3 separate regions of the Homo sapiens genome follow, and all the other regions are linked to region 3. The links are contacts of gene promoters, found by promoter capture Hi-C in blood cells and fetal thymus (Javierre and others, 2016). All regions are on one chromosome and are shown on one strand. Each heading gives the region's core, a stretch centred on a gene start or on the middle of the fragment in contact. The rest is flanking DNA. Distances are from core to core; before and after follow the strand shown.

Region 1 (3,946 bases), core at 987-3,486, 670 kb before region 3:
TTCTGTCCTCCATATCAGCTATTCTAATCTGTCATTCCTTGAGGTTTTCTTTTTCTTAAGTGATTTTTTTTTATTGAATTTCTCTTTGGTTCTTTTAAAAATATTTTAGTTCTTTTTTTTGCATAACCAGTGTTGTCATTGTGGCTTTTCTGTCTTTGAAAAATCATTCTAAACATTTTTACTGGTTTAGTCATTTTCAGATTCTATTTATAGTTTTAGATTATTTTATTTGTAGTATTTGAAGGGTAATTTGCCTATTTATTACATCAGCTAAAGCTTTCTCCTCGTGATGGTTTCTTCAATTTATAATTTTTTATTATGAGCTCATCTTTACTAGGGACTATGTATTCTATGGAAGTCCAGTATAGTATGTGAGTATCTTTGTGGGACTATTTACATCTACATCTTTTGGTCCTTAAAAATTTCAAGGGTCCAGTCAGATTTTATGTTACTTTTAAATTTTACACCACGGAATTATGTAAATTTAAAACCCTCACATATATAGGATACTCTTGTAGAGTTTTTTATGTTTTAGTGGTGACTGTTTTCCCTCTCTCATTGAAGGCTTCAAATTAATGACTGGCTTCTTTCCTCTTAGAGTTCATGGGCCACGTTTTTCTAGTTAATTTTTCTTGAGTAGCACACCTCTTTGATTCTGTGAGCTTTAGGTGGATGCTCAGTTCTTGATCCCCCACCTCACATCAGCTATGGGTATGTTTTCACTCCTGCAAGTGATTTAAAGGTGTATGTCCAAGCACTTAGCCCTTAAAGCCTAGAGCTGAGTTTGAAACCCCGGGGATTGCTACAGTGTCTGTTTAAGCTTATGGCTCTGGCTTTGACTTCTATTTGTTTCCAGCACTTGAGGAATTTTTGTTTCTTATTTTTAGCAAAGTATTATTTTGAAAGTATTTTATCCAGTATTTCTCTGTGTTTGGAGCAGGAAGGAAGCCCTTACATATTGGCTTGGACTATACCATGTTATAAGAATTTTCTGTTTTTTTTAACATTGATGTAATTTGATTGACTCTTAATTTCTTTCTATTTTAAGGATATTGGTTGATTCTCTAATAGCTTTTTAAAAATTCTGTTTTGGGATTGTTTTAACTTTTCTTTTCCCTCCAGTGCGTTTTTCAAACATTTTTTGTTTTGTGTGTATCTGGTACCTAATAAATATTCAGTAAATGTTTTCTAAGTGAAAATAAGTCAAATGTTTAGTTTGTGCCAAAGGACGTTCTAGGTGATTTTAATAAGTTTATTTGTTTTAGGCCTCATATATGTTAAGTTAGACTGATAGACCCTACCAAGTTATAAAATGATAATAATAATAGTAATAATAATAGCTTCAAATAATTATAAGACACGTCATTTTCATTCTAACCCTGCAATATGTAGTATTATTATCACTGTTTTACTGTTGAGATAATTGAGAAATAGAGAAAGTAACTTATCCCAAATCACATAGTTAGCACATGGCAGAGCTCTATTTAAAGTAAGTCTGGCTCCAGAGGCTTGTATTCTTAATCATTATACTGTAGCTTTTATATCCTGTTGAGAGATATCCTTGATTATTATTATACCTCTGCTTAAAATATTTTCCCACTGCTTTCTGGATAATGTTTAAATAAACATTTTATTATTTAAAAAATAAATGTTTAAATAAGTATTTAATATTCTAGCCTACCTTATTCTATCATACTACATATCAGCCTTGTTCTCTGTTTCCAATTGCTAACAGTTTTCCAAAGGCCCTCTATTTCATGCTTCCATGTGTTTAATTGTATTCTCCCCTCTGCCTAGAATGTCTCTCCTTCTGCTTCTCTCCTGGCTAACTCCTATACGTCCTTAGAAACTACAGCTCTTTTTGAAAGCTTCTATAACTGCTTATTGATATAGCTGTCCCTCTCTTCAGCGTTCCCCTAAATTTGTCCTCCCATAATGTGTCAGCTTATAGCATTTATTTTACTATGTTTTAATATTTTTTTTTCTTTTTGCCTCTCAACTAAACTGCCTTCTCTGAGGTAAAGGACTGTATTCTGCACATCTCCATAACCCCATGACCTCATAAACATAACTGGCACATAGGAGATGTTCAATATATATTTATTGAATGAATCGATAATTGTGATTTCATTACTTGTTTTACAGATCATCCGTAAGATTTGTCTACTGCATTGTCTTGTTGAATTTTTAAATAGGACTATGAATTATTTTGTTAGTAATATTAATAAAAGATGTTTATAAAAACAAGTTAGTATCTTGGAATACAAGTTACTTAATGAATTTCTTAAGATATCTTTTTTAAACATATAACATTTTTGCTTATTTAGTTGTGAAAGAATATGGTTTCTATAATAGTGTGTTATTTAAAAGCAGTTCTATTTAGCTATTTAGTTGAAAATGATTCTTTGGTGAAAAATTAACTCTGTAAATATGTATTAAGAGGAATGCCTGCTCTGTTTTGATTCTATGTTTTAATATTTTTACTCTTGGCAATATTTAATGAAAATGTGTCTCATTAACCTTGAAGTTACTAGTCATTATTTTGTGACTGCTTTTGATTTATTTACTGTCTTGACTTCATATATAGAAAACACTAATTTTATCAAAGCTTATTGCATTGTTTACCACTAATTACAAAATAAATAAGTAAGTAAATAAAGATCACATAGAAAAAATAAGTCTCTTGGGGTGAAAATTTATTTGTAAAACATATATTAATGGTTTTTATATGCTCATTTTCTTATAATAATATAGAAAATTTAATTGTTCACTTGGGGGCAGATGTTTTATATCATGGCTTTTTAAAAAAGTTAACTCTTTAAATGGAATGAAGGAATAGGAGAAAATTACTTGTTTGAGCCTTATGGGAAATATATCTGAGATAGCACTATTTTGCTGCAACTGAAATTCAAACATGAGGAAATTGCAGAAATTTACAATTCAATATGTGTTTCATCAGGGAGAAATCCACAGATTGTTTTGACACTCAGTTAGAAATTCAGCATGAAGATGGACGTCTCATGAAATTTGCAGCTGCTGATTGAATTTATATTTCCATAAAGGCCATCAACAGTAGCAGCCTGCAGGGGAGGAGGGGGGAGAAATGACAAAAATCGTGAGGCTAGCATTTTTCCTCAGCATTATAGTCACAAATTACTGGTAATAAGGGTTTACACTGACCAGGATTAAAGAAAAATATAGACAGCCAGAGGGAAGGACTTCTCAGTTTAATTGATTTTAACTAAATATGTCCACATTTGATATCTAAATATGTGTTTAGTCATTTGTAGAAAATCTAATATGTGTGTAAAAATCAGTTTATCTTTACTATTTAAACAGAAAGAATAAGATAGCTCTTGAAGTTAAAAAAGGTTGTATAGTACAGGTTTTCATAAGAGCCTTTCAAGATAGAAGATGAGTATTGTAGGAATATAATACGAGCTTGTTTTCTATGTCACTGAAATAATTATTTCATGTTCTTGCAAGTAACCTACAGTTGATGTTTTTGAGAATAACAATTATTATTTTAAAATGTGTTTTAAAAATTTTTTGAATGGATATCCAAATAATAGTGACAGAGAACAAGTTACCTTTTCAAGGAAATTATTTCATTTTCAAGTGTGGTGGGTTTTTTATTTTTAGCAAAATGTACAAAAAGTTCTTTCTTTTGTTTAATGCATATCTTGTGGAGATTTCATATTATACATGATTTTAAAATATTCATGGATTGTAGGTGAACTGAAGGACTTAGGAGTGTGTTCATTGTTCCTGCAGAGTTCTTTGTCTCTGTGGGCAGTGTGTACTTTTAACCATAACAGGATGCCCTCAGATAGCTTTATTTGAAAATTAGAATTTTCACAACTATATGTAAAAATATTATCCTTATTAAGAAAAATTATATTTAATTTAATATTAGTTTATAAAAAGTGAGAACATTACCCAGAAA
Region 2 (4,012 bases), core at 348-2,847, 610 kb before region 3:
AAAGACCACACTGAGTCCTAGAGGTCACTGGCAATTTCTTGCCAATGGTGTTTCCCAATATGGCCACATTTTCCTTACAGCCAGCCAGGGGGAAAAATACTCCAGCCAAGATGAGCACCATAATCTTATATAACGTAATCACATGAGCACATATATCCCATCACCTTTGCCGTGTTCTTATAATTAGAATTCATGGGTCCTACCCTCATTCAAGGAGAAGAGATAATACAAATGTATGAGTACCAGGAGGTGGTGGTTGTGTAGGCTACCTTAAGAGTATCACTCATTGCCTGGGGACTATGGGTAGGATAAGGTGGGTGTTTCCATGTAAACAGACTGGGGAACTTTTATAGGTGATGGAAATGTTCTGTCTGTTGATTGTGGTGCTAATTACAGGATTGTAAATATTTTTGTTAGAAGTTGTGGAATTGCACACTTGAAATGGCTCACAGTATTTTGTAAATTATACCTCAATAAAGTTAAGAGAAAAGACAGTAATAGCCATGAGCACCACAAAATTTGTAACTTAAAGATGCCAACTTAATAATATCCCTAAGATATCCTTAAAAGTCAATAATTGGAAAATGATTTGTTTCATAATATATCCTTTGAAGGATTTTCACAGTAAAAACTGTGGATCTCTTATTTTTATAGTCCTTTATGAAGTGTCAGCACTCAGAACTAGCAAAGATCATTTTTTTAAAGATGAGGCTTTATTACAGTCTCTTCTGTAAGTGAAGTAAGCACATATTTCTAATGCAATATCTTTTGGATGCAGACTATTGATAACCTTTCCGTAATTTTGGTTCTGAATGGTTACCTACTGGATCTGGTGATAGAGTATTTCATTTACTTTAGCCTCTATTGACAACGCTTCTAAAGGTGTACTTGCCATTTTTAGCACCTGTGGAGATTTGAAGAGTGTATGCTTCATGAAGTATTTTCTTGCTTGATTCTTCTAGTCTCTTTAAGTGATTAAAGGGTGCTTTAATTTGCATACTCACCTTTAATCTTATTATAGTGGCTTATATTCTAATAGGAATATTAAAGTTCAGTGAAAATCTCATACATGCTGATGAGAATGCAAATGAATATTGACGAAAGAATGCTAGGATCATAAGGTGTAAACTGTCCAGTTATCTTGCTAAATTCATTTCAAACAATGTTTACATTATAATGAGGACTGATACAGATTTCACCACATAAATATCACTAGCAGTGGCAAAATTATATAATTTATAATTGGATAATGGTTCAGTTTCAGACTGTTTTGAAGTTAACAAAAACAACAAAGTAATGTCTTGATATTAATGCAAACTTCAGCTGGTCATTTGTTGTATGTAGTAGTTGGGAAATTGGGTATGATTTTACAAATAAGTGGTCACGTTGAGCATTTCCGGCTGTAGCCTTTACAGGATGCATAACAAATAGTAGTGGCATCACTCATCATCCCAACAGGACATTTCAAGTATCTGGTTATTGTACAATTATAAATATACAAGCTTATTTCAGTAGTTATGTTTATGTATCTGTGTAAAACCAAGATTCATTAAATGGTCATTGAAAATGAAGCTAAAAGAAGTCCCCTGACAGTAAATAGACTAGGCAATATTTATTATAATACATTCAGTATTTAAGTTCTATTACATTCTTATATTAATGGATGAATTTTATAAACTTATGCAAAACCAGTAAGCTTTAGAAAACATATAACAGAGTTTCTCCAACCTCTTTAACTACTTTGGAATTTTTTTAATGATTTGTATTCAATTGAAGTATTTTTTTTTTCAGCCTTACAAGAGAACTGAAAATGCTGTTTTATAGACTCATCAGTAGGGCAGATTGTTATTTAGAGTTGTTTTTCTCATGGTGACGATAAGTGTGCATTATGCCATTATACTTTTTCAGCATGGTCTTATGCCCACTGGTGTGTCTTCATAGACTCTAGAATACATGGTAATCATTAGTTAAAAGTATAATAATCAATAATGATTTTTATTTTAAATAATATGAAAGTGTTTTTGCATCAAAATATGTATTTTTCGCTAAAGGGATTATACTTAATTGTAGCCCTGGCACAGGAGTTGGCAAACTTTTTCTTTAAAGGTCCGGATGGTAAATATTTTAGGTTTTTTATGGGCCACTTAGTCAGTTACAATTACTCAACTCTAATGTTGTAGCACAGAAGCAGCCACAAATAATATGTAAACAAATGTTTGTCTGTGTTCCAATCAACCTTATTTCTAGACACTGAAATTTTGAATTCTCTATGATTTTCATGTCATGAAATACTGTTCGTCTTTTGATGTTTTTGCAACCATTAAAAAAATGTAAAAAGTGGTAGGCTAAACTTGGCTTGCAGGCTATACTTTGCTGACACCTGTCCTAGAAGTTGATTTTTCTAAAGCTAGAATTAACTTCTACTCTACATTAAAACTGAAGATATATTGCTGAAACCTTTTATAGATATATAGTTCATGTTGAGTTATTTTAAAAGGAAGCTGTTTTCTAGAAAAAAAATCATAATTATACATAAGTAACTTTATTTTTAAAAAAACTTTTATTTTAAGTTCAGGGGTACATATGCAGGTTTGTTACATAAGTAAATGTGTGTCTGGAGATTTTGATGTGCAGATTATTTAATCACCCAAGTATTCAGCCTAGTACCCCATTAGTTATTTTTCCTGATCCTCTCCCTCCTCCCATCCTCCACCCTCCAATAGGCTTCAGTGTGTGTTGTTCCTCTCTAGGTGTCCATGTGTTCTCATAATTTAGCTCCCACTTATAAGTGAGAACATGCATTATTTGGTTTTCTGTTCCTGTGTTAGTTTGCTAAGGATAATGGCTTCTGGCTCCATCCATGTCCCTACAAAGGCATGATCTTGTTCTTTTTTATGGCTGCATGTATTCCATGGTGTATATTTACCACATTTTCTTTATCCAGTGTATCGCTGATGAACATTCAGGTTGATTCCATGTCTTTGCTATTGTGAATAGTGCTGCAATAAACATACACATGCATGTGTGTTTATAATAGAATGATTTATATTCCTCTAGGTTTATACCCAGTAATGGGATTGCTAGGTCAAATGGTATTTCTGTCTTTAGGTCTTTGAGGAATCTCACACTGTCTTCTACAATGGTTGAACCAATTTACACTCCCACCAACAATGTATAGCATTCCTTTTTCTCTGCAACCTTGCTAGTGTCTGTTATTTTTTGACTTTTTAATAATAGCCATTCTGACTGGTGTGAGATGGTGTGATTTGCATTTCTTTAACAATCAGTAATGAGCTTTTTATTTTATGATTGTTGACCACATGTATGTCTTCTTTTGAGAAGCGTCTGTTCATGTCTTTGGCCTACTTTTTAATGGGGTTGTTTATTTTATTTTCTTGTAAATTTGTTTAAGTTTCTTACAGATGCTGAATATTAGACCTTTGTCAGATGCATAGTTGGTAAAAATTGTCTTCCAGTCTGTAGGTTGTCTGTTGACTTTGTTGATAGTTTCTTTTGCTGTGCAAAAGTTCTTCAGTTTAATTATATTCCATTTGTCCATTTTTGCTTTTGTTGCAATTGCAACAAAATTGCAAATTTTGTTTTGAGAATTGGTGTCTTCTCATGAAATTTTTGCCCATTTCTATATGCTCAGTGGTATTGCCTAAGTTGTCTTCCGAGGTTTTGTAGTTTTGGGTTTTACATTTAAGTCTTTAATCCATCTTGAGTTAATTTTTGTGTGTGTATAAGGAAGTGGTCCAGTTCCAATTTTCTGCATATGGCTAGCCAGTTATCCCAGCACCATTTATTGCATAAGAAATTCTTTCCCCATTGCTTGTTTGTGTCAGGTTTGTTGATCAGATAGCTGTAGGTGTGCAGTCCTATTTCTGGACTCTCTATTCTGTTTCATTGGTCTATGTGTCTGTTTTTGTATCAGTACCATGCTGTTTTGGTTACCATAGCTCTGTAGTATAGTTTGAAGTTGGGTAGTGTGATGCCTCCAGCTTTGTTTTGT
Region 3 (4,127 bases), core at 60-2,559:
CACTGCACTCCAGCCTGGGTGACAGAGTGAGACTCCATCTCAAAAACAAACAAACAAACAAACAAACAAACAAACAAACACACGGGATGCCATGAGGGAGTTTTTTAGGGCAATGGAATTGTTCTGTATCCTGATTGTGGTAGTGGTTTTATATGTATATTATACAATGACTGAAATTCATAGACCTGTAAATATATACAGACACAAAGTCAGTTTTACTCTATAATGATCACAAAAGTAATCTAGGGAGCATAGCTGTGAAGTGTTCCCTAATAGGTCCTCCCAACCTCCTTCTCCTTAGGGGGTCCAAGGCCTTTCCTTCCTCTCCTTGCTTCTGGATTCTGTCTCATAGTGCTCTTCTGTTTCCCTCCCAGTCTTGGCACTACCAGGCTGTAGCGCTTCATCCAGGTCTTGTCTGGGGCCGTGGCTCTGTGACTTTGTTCCACACTCTTCTTAGTCAAGAACAGCCACCAAAATCTACTGGGTTTTCAGCCAGTTCCCTCGAAAAACAAGCAAGCTACAACAAAAACAGAAGTCATCTTTGATTTCTCTTTCTTCTACCTCCATATCCTATTTATTAGTGAGTATTGCCAGTTCTGCTTTCAAAATAGGTCCTGAACCTAATCCCTGCAGCCACCTCTGTCTAGGCCATTGCCATCTTAGGCCTTAGCTACTGCAACAGGGTTCTATCTCGTCTCCCTGCTTCCACTTCTTCCCTGCTATTGTCTATTCCCAATGCAGCAATCAGAGTAATCCCACGAAAACACATACCATGTCATTTCTACTTACAGTCCTCGAAAATCTTCCCAGTGTATTTAGAATAAAAGCCAAGTACCGTCCCACGGCCTCCACAGGGCTGGCCTCCTCCCCCTGCTTCCTCTGGTATTGTGCCCTGGCCACGCTGACCTTCTTGCTCTTTCCAGGATATGTGATGCTTATTCCCACTTCAGTGCTATTTTTTCTGCCTGGAACTGGCTTATCCCAGAAATCTGCATGGTCGCTACTTCAGATATTTCAAGACTCAGCCCTAAAGTCACTTCCTCAGAGAGAGCTCCTCTGCCCGTTTGTTTCAAATAGCTTCCCCAGGCTTCCAGTCTCTCTCTAGCCCCTTAATCTGATTTATCTTCTCTCAGCACTTAACCACCTCGTGCAAGGATGCTGGCTTCCCATGGCAACATAGAATCCACACTCATTACATCCTAGAATGTGCTATGCGACCTGGTTCGCGCCTCCCCTCTGACATAACCCTCTGCTCCTGAGGGGCAATTCCCTTTGCCGTGCCACTCCCTGTGCACCCCTCTAGACACACTGACTTCCTTGTGTTCCCGGAACAAAGCAAGCATGCTTCCACCTCGGAATCTTTGCATTTGTGATTCCATCTCCCTGGAATGCTGTTCCTCCATAGAGCTTCCTAGCACATTCTCTGCTCAAATGACACTTAATCAGAGACTTTCTTGACCATCGTATATAAAATAGCAAGCCCTTCATCATTCTGTACTCCTCTTATCTGTCTTATTTTTCATGGCATTTATAACTACCTGGTGTGTGTATAGCTATTCATCTGTTATGTGTTCTTAGCTCCCTGTACTAGGCTGTCAGCCTGCAGGGAGCCACGACTTTGTTTTGTCCACTATTGTCTTTCTCTGTGAGTCTCAGCCTCATTCATACCAATGTTGCTTTGAGGATGGCTGGGTGCAGGGAGGCACTGGAGTACCAAGAGCCCTGGAGAGACCCCTGGCCATGCGGCTGTTGTTCCTTGTCTGTCTCTCTCACCCGCATGTAAGCTCGATATTGGCGGTGACCGAGAGGCAGGGCCCAGTGCATAGTGGGTGCTCAAGAATAGTTGTAGAATGAATGAATAAATGATAGAGGCCTTTGGATATTTAAAAAGGATGTTTTGGCTTTTAAAAGGAACTTTCCATGTTTTAAAACCTAAATGCAGAATAATGGTATGAATTGGCCAGTGAGGAATTATCTTATGTGAAGTTTACTGCTAACATTTAAACATTTTCCCCTGCCTAGTAAAGACTTTTTGATGTCTTCCCATTGTTCTTAGGGTCATAATGCACTTTAAGATGGCTCCTGCCCCTTTGTCAGCCCACTTTCCCTTGCTCTGGGTCTCAGTCACACAACTCTCCTTTCAATTTCTCCTACTCGTGTTCCCTCCCAGTCCAGGGCCTCTGCCTGCAAGACTTCCTCTGTCTGGATGCTCTGGTCCCCACCCTCCCCAGAGTTAACTCCTCCTCACCCTCCCCATCTCCGCTAAAGCCTCAGATCTTCAAGGGAAGCCCTCCCTGACACTCAGGCAAGGTTAATGTGCCCTCAAATCACCAGGCACCTCTGATGTACACCCCAGATCCCAGGTGTGGCCTAACATGTGTTTGTGTGATTATATAGTTAACGCTCCCATGAGGGGGAACTGGGTCTGCCTTTACTTCACCATTAACTTCTCTGTAAACTAGCACTTCTGCAAACAGAATAGGCTTTAAAACAATATTTGTAAGGCCAGGTGCGGTGGCTCACGCCTGTAATCCCAGCAGTTTGGGAGGCCGAGGTGGGCAGATCACGAGGTCAGGAGATCGAGACCATCCTGGCTAACACGGTGAAACCCCGTCTCTACTAAAAATATAAAAAGTTAGCTGGGCGTGGTGGCGGGCGCCTCTAGTCCCAGCTACTCGGGAGGCTGAGGCAGGAGAATGGTGTGAACCTGGGAGGCAGAGTTTGCAGTGAGCCGAGATCACGCCACTGCATTCCAGCCTGGGCAACAGAGCAAGACTCCATCTCAAAAAAAAAAAAAAATTTGTAAAATGAAAACATTACTTAATTAATGATATAAAAGCGACTTTTTTATATAGCCTCAAGTTTAGTGTAAGGCAGTGAAGGTAATTGTTAAAACAAAAGTCAAGGAAACCCGTTAAGCTCTTAACCCCCTGGTACTGTTAAAAGATGAGAGATGCTGTAGTGTAGACAAGTTAGGACACCAGGCAGGTGAGTTTCCAGGGGCAGAGAGAGGAGATGAGCTTCACAGCTGCTGAGACCTGTCCCTCTGACTTGGGCAGGCATCATCGTTATTTGAAAGTACAACAGGGCCAAACCTTCAATCCAGTAACACAGCTGGTGCTCAGATTTTTTTTTTTAAACAACATCATGTGGAATTTTCTTTATGTCTTTCTACTAAAACTCAAAGGATGGGAATAAGAATAGAAGAGATCATTGAAATCAGCTCAACATAAGGTAACCTTTGAGCAGTCAGCTGTGTCCCACTGTGAACTGCCTGGCCACGAGTGTGCGTGGGGGAGAAGGGGGTGCAGAGGTCAAGGTGTCTCTCCTTGTCGGGGATGGTGTGGAGGTGATGGTGTCAGGGATGGTGTTCTCAGGTCAAGAGGAGCAGGATCTGTCTGGTGACTTTTAACATGCCTTTCCACCTGGAAACCCCTCAGAGTTTATGTTCATCCTTTGTGTTAGTCAAAGCTTAAATCCCCTTCCTTACCTAACCTTTGCTAGAAAGATGAAATCAGTATTTGCCTGGCCTGCTGCTCATTGGAATCACATGGGGAGGGAGCCTAGCACCCACTTGAGACTAGTTAAATTAGAATATGTGGTGTGGGGCCCAGATATAGGTATTTTTAAAAAGCTCTTAAGTAATTCTAAAGTGCAGCCAGAGTTGACAGCCACTGTAAAACAGGTAGTGCTGTGGACAGGTTTCCTTTTTCCTTCTCCTCTGATGCTCACTCGGTTCTCAGGCTGAATCAAGCTTGGCCAAGCCATGGCCCACAGCCCGCAGGCAGCCCAGGACAGCTTTGAATGCGGCCCAACACAAATTCATAAACTTTCTTAAAACATAATGAGATTTTTCCGTCATTTTTTTTATTAGCTTATCAGCTTTCATTGGTGTTAGTGTATTTTATGTGTGGCCCAAGAGAATTCTTCTTCCAATGTGGCCCAGGGGGAGCCAAAAGATTGGCTACCCCTGGGCTAAATGATCATAATGTGTGGCAGGCAGACTTCTGAGATGGTCACCAACAATCCTGTCTCCTGGCATTCCTGGCCTTGTGTAGGCCCTGACTCCTGGAGTGCACACTGGACTTGAACTCAGGTCCACTTAACCATCAGAGTAAAATGGCTAA

What was found. The method cuts DNA at HindIII sites, captures the fragments that hold promoters and counts their contacts. A CHiCAGO score of 5 or more calls a contact.
Region 1: a contact is called between a fragment that was not itself captured here and the fragment with the promoter of LINC03152 in region 3, in 2 of 17 cell types (monocytes and total B cells). The highest score is 6.5, in monocytes.
Region 2: a fragment that was not itself captured here is called in contact with the fragment with the promoter of LINC03152 in region 3 in 1 of 17 cell types (M1 macrophages); the score reaches 5.1 in M1 macrophages.

Annotation. Positions count from the first base shown.
Region 1 is chr5:61,023,160-61,027,105 of GRCh38, forward strand. All of the region lies in intron 1 of NDUFAF2 (NADH:ubiquinone oxidoreductase complex assembly factor 2), which reads left to right. Among named protein-coding and RNA genes, the nearest start is that of NDUFAF2, 80 kb to the left of the region's middle. The HindIII fragment of the contact is 740 bases long and covers 1,867-2,606 here.
Region 2 is chr5:61,088,136-61,092,147 of GRCh38, forward strand. All of the region lies in intron 2 of NDUFAF2 (NADH:ubiquinone oxidoreductase complex assembly factor 2), which reads left to right. Among named protein-coding and RNA genes, the nearest start is that of SMIM15-AS1, 72 kb to the right of the region's middle. The HindIII fragment of the contact is 194 bases long and covers 1,501-1,694 here.
Region 3 is chr5:61,697,123-61,701,249 of GRCh38, forward strand. LINC03152 (long intergenic non-protein coding RNA 3152) reads right to left here and starts at 1,310. Exons shown (of 8, transcript NR_109910.1): 1 at 790-1,310; 2 at 288-517. All of the region lies in intron 1 of LINC03122 (long intergenic non-protein coding RNA 3122), which reads left to right. The HindIII fragment of the contact is 4,284 bases long and covers 1-3,469 here.